2 separate regions of the Homo sapiens genome follow, and region 1 is linked to region 2. The links are contacts of gene promoters, found by promoter capture Hi-C in human tissues and cell types (Jung and others, 2019). All regions are on one chromosome and are shown on one strand. The core of a region is centred on a gene start or on the middle of the fragment in contact, and the rest is flanking DNA. Distances in the headings are between cores, read along the strand shown.

The links. Contacts are between HindIII fragments. The study calls those that stand out against the background at their distance.
Region 1: a contact is called between a fragment that was not itself captured here and the fragment with the promoter of PLEKHB2 in region 2, in 1 of the 25 tissues and cell types used here (hippocampus).

The regions. Positions count from the first base shown.
Region 1 is chr2:131,062,696-131,069,448 of GRCh38, forward strand. All of the region lies in intron 3 of FAM168B (family with sequence similarity 168 member B), which reads right to left. Among named protein-coding and RNA genes, the nearest start is that of FAM168B, 27 kb to the right of the region's middle. The HindIII fragment of the contact is 6,063 bases long and covers 1-5,803 here.
Region 2 is chr2:131,102,675-131,109,564 of GRCh38, forward strand. It overlaps PLEKHB2 (pleckstrin homology domain containing B2), which reads left to right and starts at 2,662. Exons shown (of 8, transcript NM_001100623.2): 1 at 2,662-2,724. RefSeq lists an enhancer at 2,386-2,515. The HindIII fragment of the contact is 2,981 bases long and covers 371-3,351 here.

The DNA.
Region 1 (6,753 bases), core at 1,522-4,021, 40 kb before region 2:
CCTCGGCCTCCCAAAGTGCTGGGATTACAGGTATGAGCCGCCGCGTCCGGCCTACCCAAGGTGTCTTACAACACCTACTTTACAGGTAGGCGTTGCTGAAGCAAAAGGAGCGACTGCTCCAAGGAAGCATGCATATGCAACTCAGCATGCAATGCATGGGATGCTAAACTTGTGCATTTCACACATGCACATTTTACTTAAAAACAAAACCAAAAAGGAACTAAACAAATAATGATGTGCATGCTCAAGTTATTGAGGTAAGATATACTGAGGACCACAACTTACTCTGAAATGAAACCCATCAAAAAATAAGATGGACTGAAGGATGGATGGAGTAATGTGTATGTGATACAAGTAAAATGTTACTTGTAAAAGTTGACGTTAAAAAGTTTAATCGTAGAATCTTAGCAGTCCATATATAGGTGATCACTGTGAAGTTTCTGCAACTTTTCTGTGACATCTGAAATTTTTTAAATTTAAAAAATTTAATCGTAGAATCTTAGCAGTCCATATATAGGTGATCACTGTGAAATTTCTGCAACTTTTCTGTGACATCTGAAATTTTTTACAATAAAATGTTGAAAAAAGTCACCAACGATTTCTAATCACAACAATGGTTTTTAATATATATTATCTTACTGTTTATTCTTATGACTGTGAGGCTACGTTCTAATGCTCACCAGAAAACTTTTGGTCTTTGGTTTAGGCATGAATATTACACCATTTTCTAGCCAGCACTTAAGACAAGTGCATTTCAAGTAAGGCAAACAGGTCTCCCTATCAATTTAAGACTTAGTGTGGGGCCAAGAGCTATGGTGCACACCTGTAATCCCAACACTTTAGAAGGCCAAGATGGGAGGATAACTTGATTCCAAGAGTTCTGAGACTGGCCTGAGCAGCATAGCGAGACCTTGTCTCTACAAAATAAAAATTAGCAAGGCATGGTGGGGTGTACCTGTAGTCTCAGCGATTTAGGAGGCCAAGGCAGGAGGATCGCTCATTGAGCACAGCAATTCTGGGTTACAGTGAGCTATGATTGTGCAACCACACTCCAGCCTGGGCGACTGAGCAAGACCCTGTCTCTAAAAACTAATAATAATAATTTTAAAAATTTAAAACACTAAGTAAAAAAATTTTTTTAATTAAAAATAGACAGTGTGTGCTTGCCACCTTTTTTTTTTCATTCAGCACTAAGTCCACCATATCCCTCCATAGTAACTCAACAGGAACTTCACAAACTTTAAATAAATACACACAATTACCTCATCGTACCCAAAAATATACACTGCCTCCCTGAAATATCAAATTCATTCAGTGCTAGGTCTTTCCAAAACAACAGCTTTTCAGATTCTCCCTCCCCAGGAAGCCCATCTGTACTGATGCAACCCAGGCGGCGCAGACAACAGACGCTCCCTCCTTCCACTTCACCAGACCTGTGAGTGACCCTGGCTGTGCCCTCAGGGAAGAGGACATGCACAGGGTCACTGATTTTAGAATGCCAACTGTTCGGGAACCAGAAACTTTTTATTTAAATAGGTCATTTTTTTTTTCAAAAGTACTGTGTACCACGCGGATTTTTTTATAATAATTTTTTGAGTAAAAAAAGACATTTATTTAGAAAATTTAAAAAATTCAGAAGCCTGAAGTACATGTGAGGAGAGAAGATCTGTGCCAAAACACAGCATCATGAAATTTCTGAACACTGGAGGCAAAAATCCTACAGAATAGCAAAGAAAAACCAAGGTTACACTCAATCAGGCACCAACAAGGTACCCCAATTCTCAGCAACAGTGGTGGAAGCTGGAAAGCCATTGAGCAAACACCCGAATATTCTGGGGGGAAATAACTGCTCTCTAGAATTCTGTATCCAGACAACCATCAACGAAGTGTGCGTGCAGAATAAAATGTTTTCAGACATGGAAAATCTCAAAATTGTGACTTTTCCATACTCTCCCAGGTGGTTACTGAAGAAAATCCCCCGCCAAAACCAGAGTAAACGAGGAAAAAAGAAAAGAACTCAGGCAGAAGGGAAAGGCAAAAGCAAGCCCTGGGATGATGAGAACAGTGACCCCCCCAGGGTCTGGCCCAGAGGACAACCAGTCCAGATAAGAGAGAGGAAGGGAGGGCTTCAGAGATCACCAGGAAAACAACACACAAGTATCTGAAATTGCTAAGAAGAGATCTCAACACATCGGGGGTAGCTGGAGGTTTAATTAATGCTATGGTCACAGAAACCTAATCAAAGACACCAGATAAGTACAGTATTAATTCCAGGGACACCGCAGTAGATGCAGAAGAAACTGCAACAGGGCACAGGACAACAGGATCGCCGCACAGAAGACACAGCCGTGAACAGTGCTGATGCGGCCACAATAATAGAACTGTGAAGGAAGGTCGGGGCAGCAAAGTGAGAAGTCAGTAAAGCAGTGCCACTTTACAAAAACAAACAAAAAAAGAAGCAGGGAACAGCAGAAACATGTCATGTGGAAGCACGGAAGGCACGAGCAAAAGCAGCTTTAAAGAGTTAAAGAGCTGGAGTTTGCCCATGGGGAGTGAAATGTGGGGGCTCCCACAAGGGAGCAGGCAACTGCTATTGTTCATTTTTAAAAGCCTTGTGGAGCACTGCAATCTTTTACCTCTATGAATGTAAACCTTTAAGAGGGAAAGAAACAGGCTCCACAAGACCTCACAGACTATTAATATTCCAAAGGCTATTCTCTCCCCCTCGGCTGCCATGCATGAAGTTTAATTTTTAAACAAACCAAGGGTTTCATTTTATGGCTATAATTCTGAGTTCAAAAAGAAAAGAAACGCCGGGCATGGGGGCTCATGTCTGTAATCCCAGCACTTTGGGAGGCTTAGGTGGGCGGGATCGCCTGAGGTCAGGAGTTCAAGACCAGCCTGACACACATGGAGAAACCCCGTCTCTACTAACAATACAAAAATTAGCCGGCGTGGTGGAGAGCGCCTGTAATTCCAGCTTCTCAGGAGGCTGAGGCAGGAGAATCGCTTGAACCCAGGTGGCAAGGCTTGCAGTGAGCTGAGATCGCACTACTGCACTCCAGCCTGGGCAACAGAGCGAGACTCCAGCTCAAAAAAAAAAGAAAAAAAGAAAAAAAAAAAAAAGAAAAGAAAGCTCTACTGTAAACCATTTTCACTTATCATTAAATATTCTCCATAAACAAGTACCAAAACCAGATAAACACTGTGTGATAAACAGTTTAATTAAACCATCACTTCGTAATTAAATGCATGTGTACCTGTACATAAATGTTTGCACATCCAATTATTGCCCTTAGAATACATTCCTAGAAGTGGGTCGAAAGGGTTCATTTTTAAGCTTCTAACATACACTACCAAACTGCCCTCCAAAGAAGTTTCTCCAATTTACCCTCCACCCAGCCATACACACCAATGACCATGGAAGCTATTTCATCACTCCATCACTCTTTGCAACATTTGTATCTTTTTTTTTTTTTTTTTGAGACTGAGTGGAGTCTCGCTCTGTCGCCCAGGCTGGAGTGCAGTGGTGCGATCTCGATCTCGACTCACTCACTGCAAGCTCCGCCTCCCAGGTTCATGCCATTCTTCTGCCTCAACCTCCCGAGTAGCTGGGACTACAGGCGCCCACCACCACACCCGGCTAATTTTCTGTATTTTTAGTAGAGACGGGGTTTCACCGTGTTAGCCAGGATGGTCTCGATCTCCTGACCTCGTGATCCGTCCGCCTCGGCCTCCCAAAGTGCTGGGATTACAGGCATGAGCCATTGCACCCGGCCTAAATTTGTACCTTTTAAAAATAAGTGCTAATGTAATAAATATCTAAACAACCTTGTGTGTAGAGCTTATTACAAAGAACAGACTGTTTTGACAATTTCAGATCATCATTACCAATATTAGTTACAGGTACTTGTGACTCTAAGTAGGACCAGAACAGAGGCCTCAATGTGCTGGCCCAGCTGACATCTATGCCTGATCGTAGGCTTGGGGCTGAAATCCTCCCATAAGAAATCAAGGAGTTATTTATTCATTATTCCAATGCCAAGGGTGAAGTTAAACAACTTTCCCAGGGAGTGACACAGTCAGGAGTATAATCCACATCTAGCTAACTCCACAATTCAAAGCTCTGATTCCAAAAATGGACAGCCCAGTTGTATTAGTTCATTCTCATACTACTAATAAAGAAATACCCGAGACTGGGTAATTTATAAAGGAAAGAGGTTTAATGGACTCACAGTTACACATGGCTGGGGAGGCCTCACAATCATGGTGGAAGGCAAAGGAAGAGCAAACGTGTGCAGGGGAACTGCCCTTTATAAAACCATCAGATCTCGTGAGACTTATTCACTATCATGGGAACAGCACAGGAAAAATCCACCCCCATGATTCAATTACCTCCCACCAGGTCCCTCCAGTGACATGTGGGGATTACAGGAGCTACAATTCAAGATGAGATTTGGGTGGGGACACAGCCAAACCATATCACCACCACTCTTGATGTGTGCATACACAGCCTTGTTCAGGAGGACAAAATGAATGACACCTTCTCCATTCCCAGATTCTGAAAAACAGAATTCTTCAGCAAAAGACATCTCATCACAAGGGTCTCGGAATCCTCTTATATCACAATTGGAAGAGGGCTAAGAAATACGTGGCATTTGGATTACAAAAGTGCTCTGGAAGTCAGACTCCGCATATACAGCGTTGAAACCACAAGTCAGCATTGGGTGCAAACTGAACGGCAAGATCAAGAAAGCAGCAGGGGCTGGGTGTAGTGGCTCACTCCTGTAATCCCAACACTTTGAGAGGTCAAGATGAGAGGACTGCTTGTGCTCAGGAATTTGAAACCAGCTTGGGCAATACAGTGAGACCCCATCTCTACAAAAATTTTTAAAAAATAATCTAGGTGTGGTGACTTGTGCCTAAGGTTCCAGGTACTTGGGAAGCTGAGGCAGGATTGCTTGGCAGTGAGCCAAGTTCATGCCACTGCACTCCAGCCTAGGCAACAAAGTGAGATCCTATCACACTCACACACACACACACACATACACACCCACCTCCACACACCTTCAGAGAAAGACAGAGAAAAAGCAGCAGGAAGGGAGAAAAACTTCTCTTTTAAATTTTTTATACTGATAATTTTGGCTTGCTCATCAGAAAAAGGGAAAGGCTCACTGAAAAGGGAGTTATAAAATTCAAAACATGAAGCTGGGTGTGGTGGTTTATGCCTGTAATCCCAACGCTTTGGGATGCTGCGTTGGGAAAATCCCTTGAACTCAGCAGAAAAAGGCTGTAACTGTACCACTGGACTTTACCCTGGGTGAAACCACAAGACCCCCATCTCTTAAAAACAAACACCCAAGACATGAAAACAGAGAGGATACCAGAAAAAGATGGGCACACAGCTGTGGTCCAGACTCAGGTTAGATGGACAACAGCACTTGTGGGACATCAGAAAGACTTTTTCTTTTTTCTTTTTTTGAGACAGAGTCTCGCTCTGTCACACAGGCTGCAGTGCAGTGGTGCGATTTTGGCTCACTGCAACCTCTGCCTCCCAGGTTCAAGTGATTCTCCTGCCTCAGCCTCCTGAACAGCTGGGACTACAAGTGTGTGCCACCACACTCGGCTCATTTTTGTATTTTTAGTAGAGATGGGGTCTCACTGTATTGGCCAGGCTGGTCTTGAATTCCTGGCCTCAAGTGATCTGCCCACCTTGGCAACCCAAAGTGCTAGGATTACAGGAATGAAAACCACCGTGCCCGGCTGCCTTATATTTTTCATTCACCAATTTCACAGCTTCTCCTACAAGACCAGAAGATCTGGCACTGGTGAGCCAGCAGTCTGGCACCTAACAACTGCCTGGCACCCGTCAGCAGATGCCCCTCTAAACAAGGTAGGCCGTTTGGGCAGCTGCAGTTGCTACCTGCCTGTCCCAGCTTCTGGATTACAGGAACAATTTGAGAGCAGTCTTGGAAAAGGGACAACACAGGCCTTACCTCCCTATGAGAAAGGAGAGATGTTCGAGAAGATGGGTGACAAGCTGGGCATGGTAGCTCACGGCTATAATCCCAGCACTTTGGAAGGCTGAGGCAGGAGGATCACTTAAGCCCAGGAGTTTGCGACCAGCCTAGACAACATAGTGAAACCCATCTCTACAAAAAAATAGAAAAATTAGCCGAGTGTGGTGGTGTGCACCTGTAATCCCAGCTACTCGGGAGGCTGAGGTGGGAGCATTGCTTGAGCCTGAAAAGTCGAGGCTGCAGTGAGGCGTGATTGCACCACTGCACTGCAGCCTGGGCGACAGAGCAAGACCCTGTCTCAAAATAATAATGAGATGGGTGGCCCATGTTCCACAGGGTGGCCCCCACAGGCACCCAAGGGGGGAAGGTGTCAGCAGCACTCAGTCTCCACCCTGCCTCTGCTAGGCAGTGCTGCACATTTTTGGCAAGAACAGCTCTCAGCCTGAAATTAACTCAAGGTTCTTCTTGTAAAATAAAAAAGTTGAAAGTTTTAAGTACATTTTCACACTGATTTGTGCTCCATGAAGAAATGAGTAAAAGTGGGCTACCTCTGAAAATCCTAGAAGAGTAACTTACGTTATGGTGGTCTACGGCATGATCATCACATGCCACATTGATACGTATGCCAAAGATATAAACTTCAATCCATTCCTACCATCATACACAAAAATTAACTGCAAATGGGTCACAGACATAAATGTAAAACCTACAAGTGTAAAACTTCTACAAGAAA
Region 2 (6,890 bases), core at 1,412-3,911:
ATGGTGCCACTGTCCACCAGCCTGGGTGACAGTGAGACTCCATCTCAAAAAAAAAATTATTATTATTTTGAGGCAGGGTCTCATTCTTTTGCTCAACCTGGAGTGCAGTGACACAATCATGGCTCACTGCACCCTTGACCTCCCGGATTCTAGTGAAGCTTCCCTCTCAGCCTCTCAAGTAGCTGGGACTACAGATGCATGCCACCATGCCAGTCTAATTTTTTTATTTTTATTTTTTTGTAGAGAAAGTGTCCCACTGTGTTGCCCAAGCTGGTCTTGAACTCCTGGGCTCAAGTAATTCTCCTGTCTTGGCCTCCCAAAGTGCTGGGATTATAGACGTGAGCCATCACACCCAGCCTTAAATATTACTTTTTCCTGTTGTTGAAGTGATACATATTCATGAAAGAAAACTTGGAAAATGCAGAAAAGTAGAAAAAAGAAATGTCATCCACAGTCCCATCACTCAGAGAGAATGTGTTAGTGTATTTTTGGATACTCCAAACTCAGACCCTGAAAGGTCCCTAAGACTGACCCTGAAGGTGGTCAGGGCTAGTATAGCCTTAATGAGGGCTGGTCAAGAAGCTTGTTGATGTCAGGCAATTTACCCGAGCTCATCCAGAAGCAGCGGAACCAGGAAGAACCCCATGTCACACAAATCTCTGAACTCTTGTGTTGACTAAGCTATAATATCTTGCAAAAGATGGGATTGCAGGCATCATAGGACTCCCTACCCTGCATTTTTTAAATTTTCCCCAGAGAGGAGCTGGGTTAAGACAGGGGCCCTGATTGGCAGAGTTTGGGGTTTTGAAGACCAATAATAATAGGGCTCTTCCAATATTTTTTTTAAGAGTTTTTCCCTTTTAAATTTAGATATAATTTATACACAGAAAAATGTACAAATCTTTTTTTTTTTTTTTTTTTTTTTTAGATGGAGTCTCTCTGTCGCCTAGGCTGGAGTGCAGTGGCGTGATCTCGGCTCAGTGCAACGTCTGCCTCCCGGGTTCACACCATTTTCCTGCCTCAGCCTCCCAAGTAGCTGGGACTACCGGCGCCCGCCACCACGCCTGGCTAATTTTTGTATTTTTAGTCTCTGAGTATCTGGGATTACAAGCGCACCACCAGGCCTGACTAATTTTTTTTTGTATTTTTAGTATGGACGGTGTTTCACCACGTTGGTCAGGCTGGTCTCAAACTCCTGACCTCGTGATCTGCCTGCCTCGGCCTCCCAAAGTGCTGGGATTACAGGCGTGAGCCACTGTGCCCGGCCAAAAATGTACAAATGTTAAGTATAGTGTTCAGCTTGATAAAGTTTTACTTACACACACGTACCCACCACTCAGATCAATGTATAGAACATTTTCAGCACCCTAGGAGTGGGGTTGCCAGGAGGCTCTCTCAAGCCTCTTTCCAGGCAGTACCCCTACACCACCCCCCAACCCCTGCTAGGCTGGAACGCAGTGGCTTGATTGCAGGTCAAACTTCTGGGCTCAAGCAATCCTCCTGCCTCTGGCTCGCAAAGCTCTGGGATTACTGGCATGAACCATCTCACCTGGCTAACATTTATTTTCCCTCTATTGTCTTCAGAAAACCCCCAACTTTTCATCTGGAATAATTTTAGACTACAAAAAAGTTATAAAGCTAGTATACCCTTCACACAATTTCTCCTAATGTTAACATCTTACATAACCATTATACATTTCTTATAACTAAAAACTACTATTACCTAAACTTAAATTTTATTTTAAGTTTATAGCCTAGCTACATCACCATGTTGCATATGACAGTGTCTCAGTTTTTTTCTTGCTTTTGATTACCTTGATAGTTTGAGGAGTACTGGTGAGGTGTTTTGAGGAATATCCCACAAACGAGATTTGTCTGATGTTTATCTTTCAGTTAGACTGAGGTCACGGTTTTTTTTTTAATCACATGTCAAGGGCAAGTGCAGTGACTAATCACTTTGATTTTCACGTGGAGTGGCTCTACAGCCCTCTTTCCACACTGTACTCTTGGAAAGGTCGTCCCCAGGCATAGGCCACACTCAGGGTGGGTGTGGACGGATTACCACACCCCTCTGGATGAGGTATTATTAGAATTCCTCTGCAAGGAAGATTATCCCTTCTCCCTCATTTATTTAATCACGTATTTATAGCAGCACGGGCTCTGGGCTGTTTTATACTTTAGGTTATAACTTAATGCAATGTACTTTATATTGCTGCTCAAATTGTCCCAGGCGCGGCCCCCGGAAGCTCTCTGGGTAGATCCCTGCGCCCTTGGACGCCCGGTCCTTCAGTTTTTTGAGCACCTCAAGCTTCTGGCCTACAAAACGCTCCCGGCTCAGCTGGAGCTTTCTGCGCCCGGGTCCTAGAGTCGCCCATTTCTCTAAGGCGCCTTGGCCCTATTTTTAGAGAGCGGTATTTAGAAACCAAGATTAGGGTGCTAACAATTTTTTTTTAAATTTTTATATTTTTAAGACAGGATCTCACTTTGTAACACTTCCTTTTAGTGGAAGCGCCGACCTCCTGGGAGACCCACGCCCCCTGCCGCCTTCCGTCCCGTTTCTCAGAAAACCACCCAGACACCCCGCCCCACCGGCCGGGGCCCGCCGCGCATGCGCGCCGAGGCGTGACGTCAGAACGGCGGCCAGGACGCCGGACGTGCGGCAGTTGCAGGCGAGCAGGCGAGGAATCGCCGTGGCGTCTTGGTGTTCTCCACGCTGGTTCGCAGGTGAGTGTCCCTGTTTAGTCCGGACGACCCTAGCTCCTTTCCCCTCTGGCCCGCGCCTCTCCAGATTCTCCTCTAGAGCTGCCCAGCCTCGCGCCCCTCTGAGGGGACCCCGCACCGCGCCACCTCCGCGGTGTCCCCACTCCCTAATTTTCCCTGAGGCTCCTGGCCACGGGTCCGCCCACCTCCCTGGACCACCCTGACCTTCCCCAGGTCCGCCCTCTCAGTCTCCCCTAGAGCAGCCCATTCGAGAGCCCTCCCAGTGGGCCCCCCCGGCCTCTCAGACCCCTTCCCATCGCTTCCCCGGCGTCCGCCTCCGGTCCTTTCCCCGAGCCCCTCCTCTCCGGCCCCGCGGACCCTCCTCCTTTCCCGACTGCAGCCTCCGCCTTGCATCCTTTCTGGCCGCTCGGGAGTGTCCCACATGTCTGACTGCCGGGACCTGCTGCGGCCCGCCGCCTGGGGTCTCCCGGCGTCCGATCTCTACCCCTGCTGCTCCCTCTGCTCCAGGGAACTTGCCTTCTCAGTTCTCCTGCCCAGAGGTCTCCCCTCCTTAAGTCCCGGGGGGCGTTGAGGCTTTACCCTCGCGGTGCGGTCCGCCCCCGCTGCATTTCACCTGCTCTTGGCCTTGCAATGTCTTTAGTCATAAGTGCTTGGTGTACCTTATCTTACATATCTCTCTTCATGTTTGATTCTGTTACTCAACTAGATTGAAAACTCCGGAGGTCAGGGATTTGCATAGGGATCCCCGCCCCGCCACCCCGCTTAAATCTCAAATGTAGACCGGTTCAGGGTGGGTGGAGGAAAGGAATGAGGTGGAGTGGTCACTGTAAAAAATTAAAGGAACATGGTTAATTCAAAATAATACTGACTCATGGTCTCAGCCTTTAAATTTTTAGTGCTTAGGAAAGGGTGGAACCACCACCGAGGGAGGAGGGCTGACAGCTGAGGGGAGGAATATTCCAAGGTCTTCTGTGGCCTTTGGTATGAACCAGTACCAATTCAGGAAGTGACTTGTCCGAAGTCACATGAGGAATTAGGACCCGAGCTGGCACTGGTAACTGCCTGTTTAGTGTGGCCCTCAGTATTTGTTGACTAAACTAATGACCAAAACATGTATGCACAGACACAGCTGTGCGTCTGTGCCCATGCAGTGGGTGTGTCTGCCTAAGGACCTGTGGGGGTGTGGGAATACTGCTGTGACGGTTCAATTGTGGTGCTCAGGAGTGTTCCCTAGGTTCAGAAAGTTCCTAACCCTGGGCTGGTTGGCTGGATATTGATAGGACTGGAGCTTGTCTGGGCTTCCTTTGTGCCTGGTGTTTACTCTCTGTGGTGGTGATCTCTTTACTCGACTCTTCCCTATTCGTACTGATCTCCCTGAGGACAGGAATCAAACTGTGTTGCAGGGTTTCCCTAATAAACAGCATAGTGTTTGGCACTTTGTAGGTGGTCAGTAAATGCTTATTGAAGAAGGCTGCAGAAAAGAACTCAGAACCTGACAGCGGTTCTTTGCTAGCATTATATTTTAAAGGCGGTGGTACATTCTGTAAGTAAATTTCCTGCTATTCTCAAGGACTGAGTTGATTAAATGTGTACAGCAGTGGTATAGAGAGGACAGATACTCTTGTGGTGTTACTCCTTGGGAAGGTGGAGGTTTCTCTCAGCTCTTTCTGAAAGCTTTGCTTATGCTTTTCAGCTTGCATTAATATTTTTGTTTCTCCTTTCCTCTGCCTGCCTTCTTACTGTTTGTCTAAAGAAATTAAAGAATTACCTTATTAATAACAGTAACTACCAAAAACTGCAAAACACACTGTTAAAAATGCTCCCAAAGTGGGGGCTAATTGACCCAGTTGTTTTGTTAGTTATATATTTGCTTCCACAGTGGATCATGGAAACGGAAAGTTGGACTTCCTTGCCTCTTTGCTTTCTTTGCCTGTCTGCCCTTTGATGGTGCTTGTATTAGGCTTGTTGTTAAGAAGTGGTTCCCAACTGGAAATGGCCAATGCCACGTGGGAACTGACCTCTACATGTTGATGGGTCACCCAACCTTCTTTCCCTTCTGTTTCAGAATGTACCTGTGACATCTCTTTGACTCTCCACTGTTGCCCTTGAAGAACAGAGATGAGTTTTCTTCCTTTTTCATAAGGAAGCCACTTTTATAGCGAAAGAGAGCTGGAGAACTGGGATATCATGAGGAGTTGTAGACAGTTAAACCTGAATTCTAGCTTTTGGAACAAAATAGTAATGTAATTGTAGCAGTTCTCACTTTTTTATTTTTTATTTTTTTGAGACGGAGTTTCACTCCTGTTGCTTAGGCTGGAGTGCGATGGCGCAGTCTCGGCTCACTGCAACCTCCGCTTCCCGGGTTCAAGGGAGTCCCCTGCCTCTGCCCCCCAAATAGCTGGGATTACAGGCGTGCGCCACCATGCTCGGCTAATTTTTTGTATTTTTAATAGAGATGGGGTTTCACTATGTTGGTCAGGCTGGTCTCGAACTCCTGACCTCAGGTGATCCGCCTGCCTTGGCCTCCCAAAGTGTTGGGATTATAGGCGTGAGCCAACGCGCCTGGCCAATTCTCACTTTTGGACCATCTACTACAGGGCTGTTTGGACATACCTCCTTTAATTGTCACAGTAACCCCATGACGTAATTGGTTGTGCCTGGTCATACAGGTAAGAAAACTGAGGCTTAGAGAGGTTTAGAATTTTGCTGAAGGTCATACTAGTGAGTAGAAGGCAAAGTAGGCTTCAGGCTTAGAACTGTCAGATTCCAAAGGCAGTATTTTTTGTCCATCTGTTGTCTGTTTCGATTCAATGCTTTCAAAGAGATACAAATTCAAATTTAAAATAATTTAAATTGTTGAATATGGCTTACATTTTAAAGCTTTGCATAGGTTTTATTGGCATAAAAATAATGTTCTTTTGCAGCTAGTTTGCTGGTGTTTTATTCTCTAGAGACCAACAGCTAGGGCTTAGTGTTTATCTGATGAGTTTTAGTTTATGCATTCAGTTTTGCTCCAGGATATAAATAGTGAAATGTTGAATTAAGTTATGGAGTGGTGTGAAATTCAGCATGCTAAGGCAATCAAACAGAAGTCTTCTGAGCCATTTGAGAAGCAGCTTGATGTCCTTGTTCTTAGAACAGGGCTGTCCAATCTTTAGACTTTCTTGGGCCACATTGGAAGAAGGCCATACATAAAATACACTAACCCTAATGATAGCTGATGCACTAAAAAATAAAATTGCAAAAAAATCTCATAACGTTTTAAGAAAGTTTACAAATTTGTGTTGGGCTGCATTCAAAGCTGACCTGGGCTGGGGCCATGAGTTGGACAAGCTTGTTCTAGAATATTTTCGGCAAATTTTGGTAAGGGGGAAAATAAGTAATAGTAATAATAGTAGTAAATAGTAATAATTGCTGTCAAAGCAGCTACCATTTATCGAGTTCTAGTAACTGTGAGGCACCATGCCAACTACTTACATATTATTTCACCCAATTTTCCGAACATCCTGTCAAGTAGGTGGTGGGAATTTTCGTTTTATAGATCAGGCTTGGAAACGTGACTTGTCCGATTGAGTCAGGATCTGAACATAGGTCTTTTAACTCTAAAGCTTATACCCAAACACTGGGTTCTGTGAAATTTCAAAAGCATATGATAGGCTGACTGCAGTGGCTCATACCTGTAATCCCAGAACTTTGGGAGGCTGAGATGGAAGAATCCCTTGAGCCCAGGAGTTCGAGACCAGCTTGGGCAACATAGTGAAACCTCGTCTCTACAAAAACAAAACAAAATGTGATCAAAATCATACTTCATGATTTTTGGTTTCTAAAGATACTCTCTAAATTTCTCTCCCCAATTTAAAAACGAAAGCAGAGCACTGTTGGAAGGTTCAAATAGGTAGATTAATTTAGGTTGGTTTTTTTGTTTTGGTATAGTTGAAGATAATTCAGGTTATTGTTTACATGTTTACATTTATCAAAATAATACATGTACATAGATTGAAAGACCAAATAGGCTGAGCGTGGTGGCTCAAGCTTTTGGAGGCCAGCACTTTTGGAGGCTGAGGCGGGTGGATCCCCTGAGGTCAGGAGTTTGAGACCAGCCTGACCAACGTGGTAAAATCCCGTCTGTACTAAAAGTACAAAAATCAGCTGTGCGTGGTGGTGGGCGC